Regions from separate parts of the Homo sapiens genome. Here region 1 is linked to region 2. The links are contacts of gene promoters, found by promoter capture Hi-C in blood cells and fetal thymus (Javierre and others, 2016). All regions are on one chromosome and are shown on one strand. The core of a region is centred on a gene start or on the middle of the fragment in contact, and the rest is flanking DNA. Distances in the headings are between cores, read along the strand shown.

What was found. The method cuts DNA at HindIII sites, captures the fragments that hold promoters and counts their contacts. A CHiCAGO score of 5 or more calls a contact.
Region 1: a fragment that was not itself captured here is called in contact with the fragment with the promoter of DOCK9-DT in region 2 in 1 of 17 cell types (total B cells); the score reaches 5.0 in total B cells.

The regions. Positions count from the first base shown.
Region 1 is chr13:99,455,438-99,459,249 of GRCh38, forward strand. No RefSeq gene overlaps it. Among named protein-coding and RNA genes, the nearest start is that of LNCARGI, 25 kb to the left of the region's middle. The HindIII fragment of the contact is 684 bases long and covers 1,403-2,086 here.
Region 2 is chr13:99,084,982-99,088,816 of GRCh38, forward strand. It overlaps DOCK9-DT (DOCK9 divergent transcript), which reads left to right and starts at 1,742. Exons shown (of 1, transcript NR_047482.1): 1 at 1,742-3,644. It also overlaps a transcript of DOCK9 not described here. RefSeq lists silencers at 1,074-1,553, 1,594-1,903, 1,994-2,053, 2,634-2,863 and enhancers at 1,744-2,305, 2,868-3,427. The HindIII fragment of the contact is 5,433 bases long and covers 105-3,835 here.

The sequences.
Region 1 (3,812 bases), core at 495-2,994, 370 kb after region 2:
CTCTTCATCTATCTCCATTAACAGACATCTTATTGCCCCTAAATCAGAATCCATTCTGCTGCTGGGGCAAAACAACATTTTTTTTTTTTTTTTTTGTAAGAGATGGGGTTGGCCGGGCGCGGTGGCTTACCCTTGTAATCCCAGCACTTTGGGAGGTCGAGGCGGGTGGATCACGAGGTCAGGAGATCGAGACCATCCTGGCTAACATGGTGAAACCCCGTCTCTACTAAAAATACAAAAAAGTTAGCCGGGCGTGGTGGCAGGTGCCTGTAGTCCCAGCTACTCCGGAGACTGAGGCAGGAGAATGTCGTGAACCCGGGAAGCGGAGCTTGCAGTGAGCCGACAGCGCGCCACTGCACTCCAGCGTGGGGGACAGAGAGAGACTCCGTCTCAAAAAAAAAAAAAAAAAGAGAGAGAGAGAGAGATGCGGTCTCATTATGTTGCTCAGGCTGGAATTGAACTCCTCCCATTAGCTGGGATTATAGGCACGCACTACCAAGTGCCTGGCTGGCTGCAAAACAACTTTTGCTGTTGGAAATCCATCAGACATTGATGGCTATAAGCTGGACAAGTGACCTAACTGCCTTGGGCCTCATTTTCTCCACAAGGACAGTAGTGGGTGTTCCTTACAGATCACAGGAGTGCCCAGCACCTCTAAATCTGATAACATTATACGTGTTACATGGTGCCCTCAGGGATGATTTCTTGGTGTTATTGGGGCATAAATACAGTAATGGGATCGTCATCCAAACAAAAGTGGATTGGAAAAGCATCCTAGTCCCAAGACGCTTTATAAAATGAATGTGACTTTTAAAATAAATAATATAACAGTGCTAATAAAGAAGAATGCAGCGCAGGGCATGCATAAGGCCAAGTACATTGGGGAAGAACGTTGCAGTGCGTAGCCTTCTGGGGGTGAGGCTTTTAACAATTTATAGGGTTATAGCAACTCAGCTTCAGGAAACCTCTAACTCAGCTTGATGAAGAATGAGAGGAATTTCCATTAGTTACTCCAGCTCTTACCCAGTACTCCTGATGATAAAAGAAAATGGAAACGACTGAAGCATGCTTTATATAACCAAGATTATTGATTTGATGAAAGCGGGTAATAAACTGCAGTAATGCCAGATGTGATTGGTTGAATTAGGTCATATAAACTCATTAGTTTTAGTCAAACTCTCTTTTAAACACAAGTCCAGAAATTTATCTTGCATTAGAACTTTTAGTAGCCCAGGTTTCTGTCATAATTTTCCCTCAACAGTTTTATAGTCAGTTGTGATTACCATCAGTGTTTTGAGATTGTACTTTATTAGCTGCTAAAAAAATTAAGTCAACCAATGAAAGCTATTTAGAGGTAAGTTTCATAAAATACTGTCTTCTGGGTGTCTTAATTTCAGAGTGAAGCTTATCAAAAGAAAAGAATATTGCACATGACCAACTTTTAAATGATTTTGTTTTCAGAAAGTGACAATTCTACTGGTGATTTTTATTATTTTCTTCATTTTTTCTGAATTTTATAAATATGCTAAAATAAATTGGAGGCTAGGACTGTTGGCTCACACTTGTAATTCCAGCACTTTGGGAGGACAAGGTGGGAGAATTGCTTGATCTCCGGAGTTAGAGACCGGCCTGGGCAAAATAGTGAGACCTTGTCTCTACAAAAATTGAAAAAAAAAAGTTAGCCAGGCATAGTGGTGCATGCTTATAGTCACAGCTACTTGGGAGGCTGAGGTGGGAGGATCACCTGAGCCTGGGAGGTTGAGGCTGCAGTAGGCCATGGTGGTGCCACTGCACTCCAATATGGGTAACAAAGCAAAACCCTGTCTTAAAAAGATGAAATAAAATAAAATAAAATAAACAATTGGTATTATTTTACTTTAGTTTTAGGCATTTTAGTTGGTTTAATTATGGCAAACAATATCCAAATATACTCCAGTCATAAAAGATTTCAGCAACCCTAAATTGCCTGCAGTAAAAAGTGAAGTCCTACAGCACTGTTACCACCAACCTCAACTTCCTTTGTGCTATAGTTGTGACAACCGTAACAATTTAATATGCATTCTGCTAACACTTTGCACTCATATGAAGCTTTCATGGCATTGTATGTTTTCATTATATAATATGTTGTGATTCACCTTTCGGCTTAACAAAATCTGGGTGATCTGTACATATACGTACTTCATTTTTTTTTTCATGGCTGCATAGTATTCTGGTGCCGTAGCTTATTTCACAATCCTCACATTGATGGACAGTCCCTTCGTTTTCCAGTTCGCTGGGCATTCTTTGTACATACACGTTCGCGCACAGGAACAAATATTTTGTAGGAAAGATTCCTAGAAGTAGAATTGGTGGATCAAAGGGTATTTGCATTTTTAGTTTCTGTAGATGCTGCCATATTTCTGTTCACACAGTAGCACAGTGGCCGTTCCCCAGGATGGGAGTGACTAGCATGCCAGGATGGGGGAAGCCTTCACAGAGGTGGTGAGGTGGGTTTGTTTTGTTTTTGAGACAGAGTCTCACTCTGTTGCCTAGACTGGAGTGCAGTGGCACGATCTCAGCTCACTGCAACCTCCACCTCCCAGGTTCAAGTGATTCTCCTGCCTCAGCCTCCCAAGTAGCTGGCATTACAGGCGTGTGCCACCATGCCCAGCTAATTTTTGTATTTTTTAGTAGAGACGGGGTTTTGCCACGTTGGCCAGGCTGGTCTCGAACTCCTGACCTCAGGTGATCTGCCCGCCTTGGCCTCCCAAAATGCTAGGATTACAGGTGTGAGCCACTGCTCTCAGCCTGAGGTGGTTTAAAAAGGTAAATAGGGATTGATTTGGAAGACAAGGGACAAAGTGGAAGGCACCATGCAAATATATTCCAGACAGCAGTAACAACATGTGTGAATGAAGGGAGAAATGGGCTGGTGGAAGTATAATCACAACGACAGAGTTTAATTCCCCATTTGTAATGGGCAAACAGATGGAGTAACAATAAATAGCCCAAGAAAAAGGGATCGAAACAATATAGCTAAGAAGGTAAATTAATCTATACCAGAACTTGTATGTCACAAAGAGAGGTTACATATTTTTCTTCTCCTTTTATTTGGAAGATGTTTACATCTGGAGAAAAGGGGAAAGAAGCAGACTTCTCCAGTGGGGCACTCAGTCTGGTGCCAGAAAGCATATCAAATCAGAGCACAGACCTGGCTGAACATGGGGCTACTTCCCAAGGTGTCAATTTTCTTTGAAGATTTTCAGGTGAGTAAAACATTGTTTTCATAATAAAACCAAATTGAATATTTCTGAAGCAGAATGCAAACTTTTTGTTACTTTTTAAGATGTCACTCAAACCTTCAAAGATGATTTTCTAAACCTCAGGAAGTGTACTAATTCCCCTTGGCCATCAGGAAGGCTTTGGTGGAAATGTTTGAAAAGCAGAAAACCAGAATGTCTCATTTGTCCCAATTTTACTATTTGGCCCCACCAGATCTTCAACTTTATTGTCACCATTTCTCTCCACTCCATGTGACCTGGCCTTTTGGGATTTTTTCTTATTTTCCAAATATTCCTGCATTAGCATCTATTTCACCCCTGCCTGGAATCATCCTTGAAAGGCCAATTCAAGCCTTACTTCTCTGAAACTTTTCTAAGCAGAATGGAAAGGCAAGAGTAAACCTTTGGCGACTGATAAATTGTATTAATGTATTGTTTCCAATTGTTCACTGCCTTTACCAGTAAGATTTCCTTACCAGTTTCCCTGTCATTGCCATGACCTGTCTATAGAAGGCGTAGACCTCTCTGCTGCCACTAATAGCGGGCTTGGCC
Region 2 (3,835 bases), core at 492-2,991:
CTTGTTTACTATGGATCAAACTGGAGTTGGAGAAATTTGGAGTTGGCAGAGCTAGCAATCGAGAGAAAATTCAAACTGAGCAAACTGGATATAGAAATCAGCGAAGCTTCATCTCCAATCTCCACAAACGTCATTCACGCAATTCTGTGTCTGCCCAGGAAGGGCATCGATCTGCCACCAAAATGATGCATCCGCCCCTGTGTTAAGGGGCCCGGCACTCTGCCCCGACAATCCCCCACAGGGCCCAGACAACCACTTCCAAGGCCCATCTTCTTGCACTGTTCCAACAAACACAAGTCACACCCACCCACAAACAAGCCCGTTTCAAGAAAACAAATGCCGGCGGCAACGCAAGGAGCTGCTAAAAGTTTCCAGCTGCCCTGCAGAGCTCGCTCCTGCTCAAACGTCGCTCCACTCCCGCACCATCCAGGTGAATCGGGTTGTAGTGCGTTTCCAAATACAGCAGGACCGGCGCTGGCTGTGAAAAAGTTAATCGAAAACTTCATCTTCCTCACACCCAGAGGCCTATTCTCTAAAGACGTTCTGCCACGGGAAGATTCGTTTTGGGCTGATGGCTTTGCTTACTTAGAACCCCCAAACGTCACAGGAATTTGCACCAATACTAAATTAGCGAGGGTTCCCATCATGCCCCCCAAGCCTTCCTAAAAGGCGGCCAAACTTCAGGATACCGGCTTGGAGGTGGGGGGCGCAGGAGAGGATGCCGAAGTCCTTCCCTCCTGGAGTTCAGCCAACTCAAAGGGTTAGCAGGGGCATCTCCCACCCTGAGCGCAGACTGGATGAGGAAGCCCCCACCTCAATTCCCCTGCGCCCCTCCAAAACATGGAAGGAGAGGGAGGCCGGGGGAGGGATACGGGGGAGGGATGCGGGGGAGGGGGGAGAGTGTAATTTCCCAGTTGACAGAAAGCAGGTAAATTGGGAGAGAGCGGGGTGAAAAGAGTGACAGGGCGACATCACTCTGCGGAAATTTCCCAGGAGGAAGGGGACAGCGATGGGGACAGGATCTTGGGTGGCGGGGAGGGGTCTGGGAGTTGCAGCCCCTCCAGGACCTTCTCTTCTCCCCTGTCCAACTCCCTCCCGCCGGCCCCACCTCTTGATTCCGCGGACCCAGCAGGGTCGGCCGCTCTGCCTCAGCCCTGCCGACTAAGAGGCGCCCGGCCCGGGGCCCGCAGCTGCCTGCGCCCCCGCCATCCTCCCCCGGCCCGCGGTCGTCCCGCACTCACCAGGAGCACGGAGCCGCGCACCACCTCAGACACGCTCTGCCGCAGCTCGGCCGCCGTGCCCGGCTTACTCAGCGCCCGGGTGAACTTCCGAGTCTCCGCCGAGGCGGGGAGCAGCGGCGGCTGCGACATCCTCCTGCCCCCGCCGCCTCCGCCTCCGCCTGCTCCCGCGGCCCGGCCCGGCCGCGCGGCCGCCAGGTGCGCCCTCGGCGCCCGGCCCGCTCCGCCCGCCGCTCCCGGCGCCGCCGCCGCCTGCTCCCCCCGCTGCTCGCCGCGAGTCCGGCCGCCGCAGCCCAGGCCGCGCCCTCTGCACCGTGTCACGCCCCAAGGCGCCCCCCTCGGCGTCCGCGGCCCCCCGCGATCGCAGCAGCGCCCGGGCTCGCTCCGGGCGACCGTGCGTGTGGCGGCGGCGGCTCCCCCATGCCACCAGCCTCCCTCGGCGACCACTCGCCGGGCCGCCTCCTCGGGGCGGGGTGTCCGGCGCGGCGCGGGCGGGGCGGGGCGCCCGGACGGCGGAGGAGGGGCCGCCGCGGCGGGACGGCGGGCCAGGCAGGTCGGCGCGGCCCGGCGCTGGAGCTAGGCGGCCGGACTGGCAGGGGCGGCGTGCCGCGCGGGACCCTCACTGGGGAAGGTGGGGGGTCGGGGCCGCCTCCGCCCCGGGCCGCACGTCCGAAGACCGGAGGAGGGGACTGCGCACGCCACCAAGAGGGCGCACAGCCGAGGCTGGACGATGCGCGGTTTCGGAGCAGGGTTTCCTGCCCAGGGAGCCCGGCTGCGCTCGAGGGGACCCCGAAGTCACCGGCAGGGTCGGAGCTCGGTGCACCACGCCCCCCCTCTGCGCCCGGGGCCTCTGCGGGGACAGAGGTCTCAGGAAAGTAGCCTTTATTTATGTGGCACCGATCGGAACCCGCGGCCGGCCAGGCGGACCTGGACGGAGCGTCCCTGCTCGGAACCTGGCGCGGGGCGCCGCGCGCTCGTGTGGCGCCTCGGCCTCCCCACCGTTCAGTCCCCGGAGGCACGGAGCTCGCGGCGGGACGATGACGGTTGGGCCGGGCCAGGCGTGGGAGACTCCCAGACTCCGGCCCGCCGGGACGGCCAGCTGCGTCACCTTGGACGTGGGCAATACTTCGGAGCCTCGGTTATGTCGCCTGTAACCTGAGGACAACGGCCTGGAAGGGGCTCAGGTGACACGGCGGCCCTCACTGGGGCCGATTTAGCCGGTCTGCCGCCCCTCCGCGCCGGACCGCCAGGCGGGGTACCAGGGAAACTGCGATGCGCCGGCTTGCGAGCCCACCGTGACGCAGAGCTGGCGGCCGCTAGCGACAGCCACCCTGTGAGGGACTTTCCCCCCAATACCCTAACCGCTTTCCTGTCCCTAAGGGCCCGCTCCCGCCCCGGCTCCGTTTCTGTCTCTCTGAGGAAGCCCGGCGCAGCCTAACCCTCACAGGGCCGCGGAGAGGGCGCGCCAGGCGGGGATTTGCGCCAGGCCCGCGGCGCATGCTCAGTGGTTGGGGACTGGGCGGGTACCCCGGGCGGGGAGCCTGACTGAACGGCGGCTCTGCTGATTGGTCGGGCTGCTCACGCCACGCCCGTTGCCTTCCGATGGACAGTTCCTTACCTGCCGGGTCGGCCTCCGCAGAGAGTGGTGGTCTTGAAAACCCAGTTTTGGGAGAATACCTGCCGCGCCTCCCGCCCAAATACCCAGAGGTTTCATAGCCGCCATCGCTGCGGTGGAGGAGGCCGCCTGTTGCGTCCCACCCCACCAGAAAGCCTAACACTGGCCTGAAGCGTAATCTTAAAGTGGTAGGGGAAAATACCGATCTAGCGCAGAGAGCAAAACACCTCCGTTCTGGGTTTAATGGGCAGGTCTGGAGGTGAGGTATGCCGTCCGCACTCAATAATTACTTGCAGGATCGGATTGTTTCTCCAGTGGGTGGGGACTGCAGGATGTAGCATTGAGTGAGCCTGGCAGATTGAAAGATAAAACAAGGGTGATGATAAAAACAATTACACACTAACCCATTTCCTCCTCCGTGAAATGAGGGAATGGCCCAGACATTTTCCAGACCTCTTCTGTCCTAAGAGTGGAGCTGGGTGACAGAGCAGGTGCAAGCCGGCCTTTCCCTGCCTCCCCGGGGAACGCACTCTGTTCGGTGAGAGCAACTCAGCTCGCATTGACTCCTTTCAGCTGCAGGAGTGTGGCCGTTCAGTTCTCATTTGAACTGTTGACAACAGTTGTCTTCTGAGAATCATGAGTTAGAGCCTCCCTTTAGGCTTCTGACTCCCTCAAAAGTACCAGACAACACAAACTTTTCCCCTCTTGTTACCTTGGCTCTCTAAGCTGTATCTACTTCTATACAAGGCGAACAATTTTGTCTTTTTAAATTAAAAACAACAACAAAAGCACCTAAGGTTGTAGGGTTTTATATTCTTTTTTCTTTTCTTTTTTTAAGAGCTATATGATTACAGTAGAGTGTGTGTGTGTGTGTGTGTGTGTGTGTGTGTGTGTAGTCTAAAGAACAAAATTTCAACAAATGGTTTTAAAGATCTAATTGGCTTCTATTAGCAATGCATGAACCAGGCAGCATTCTGACTAC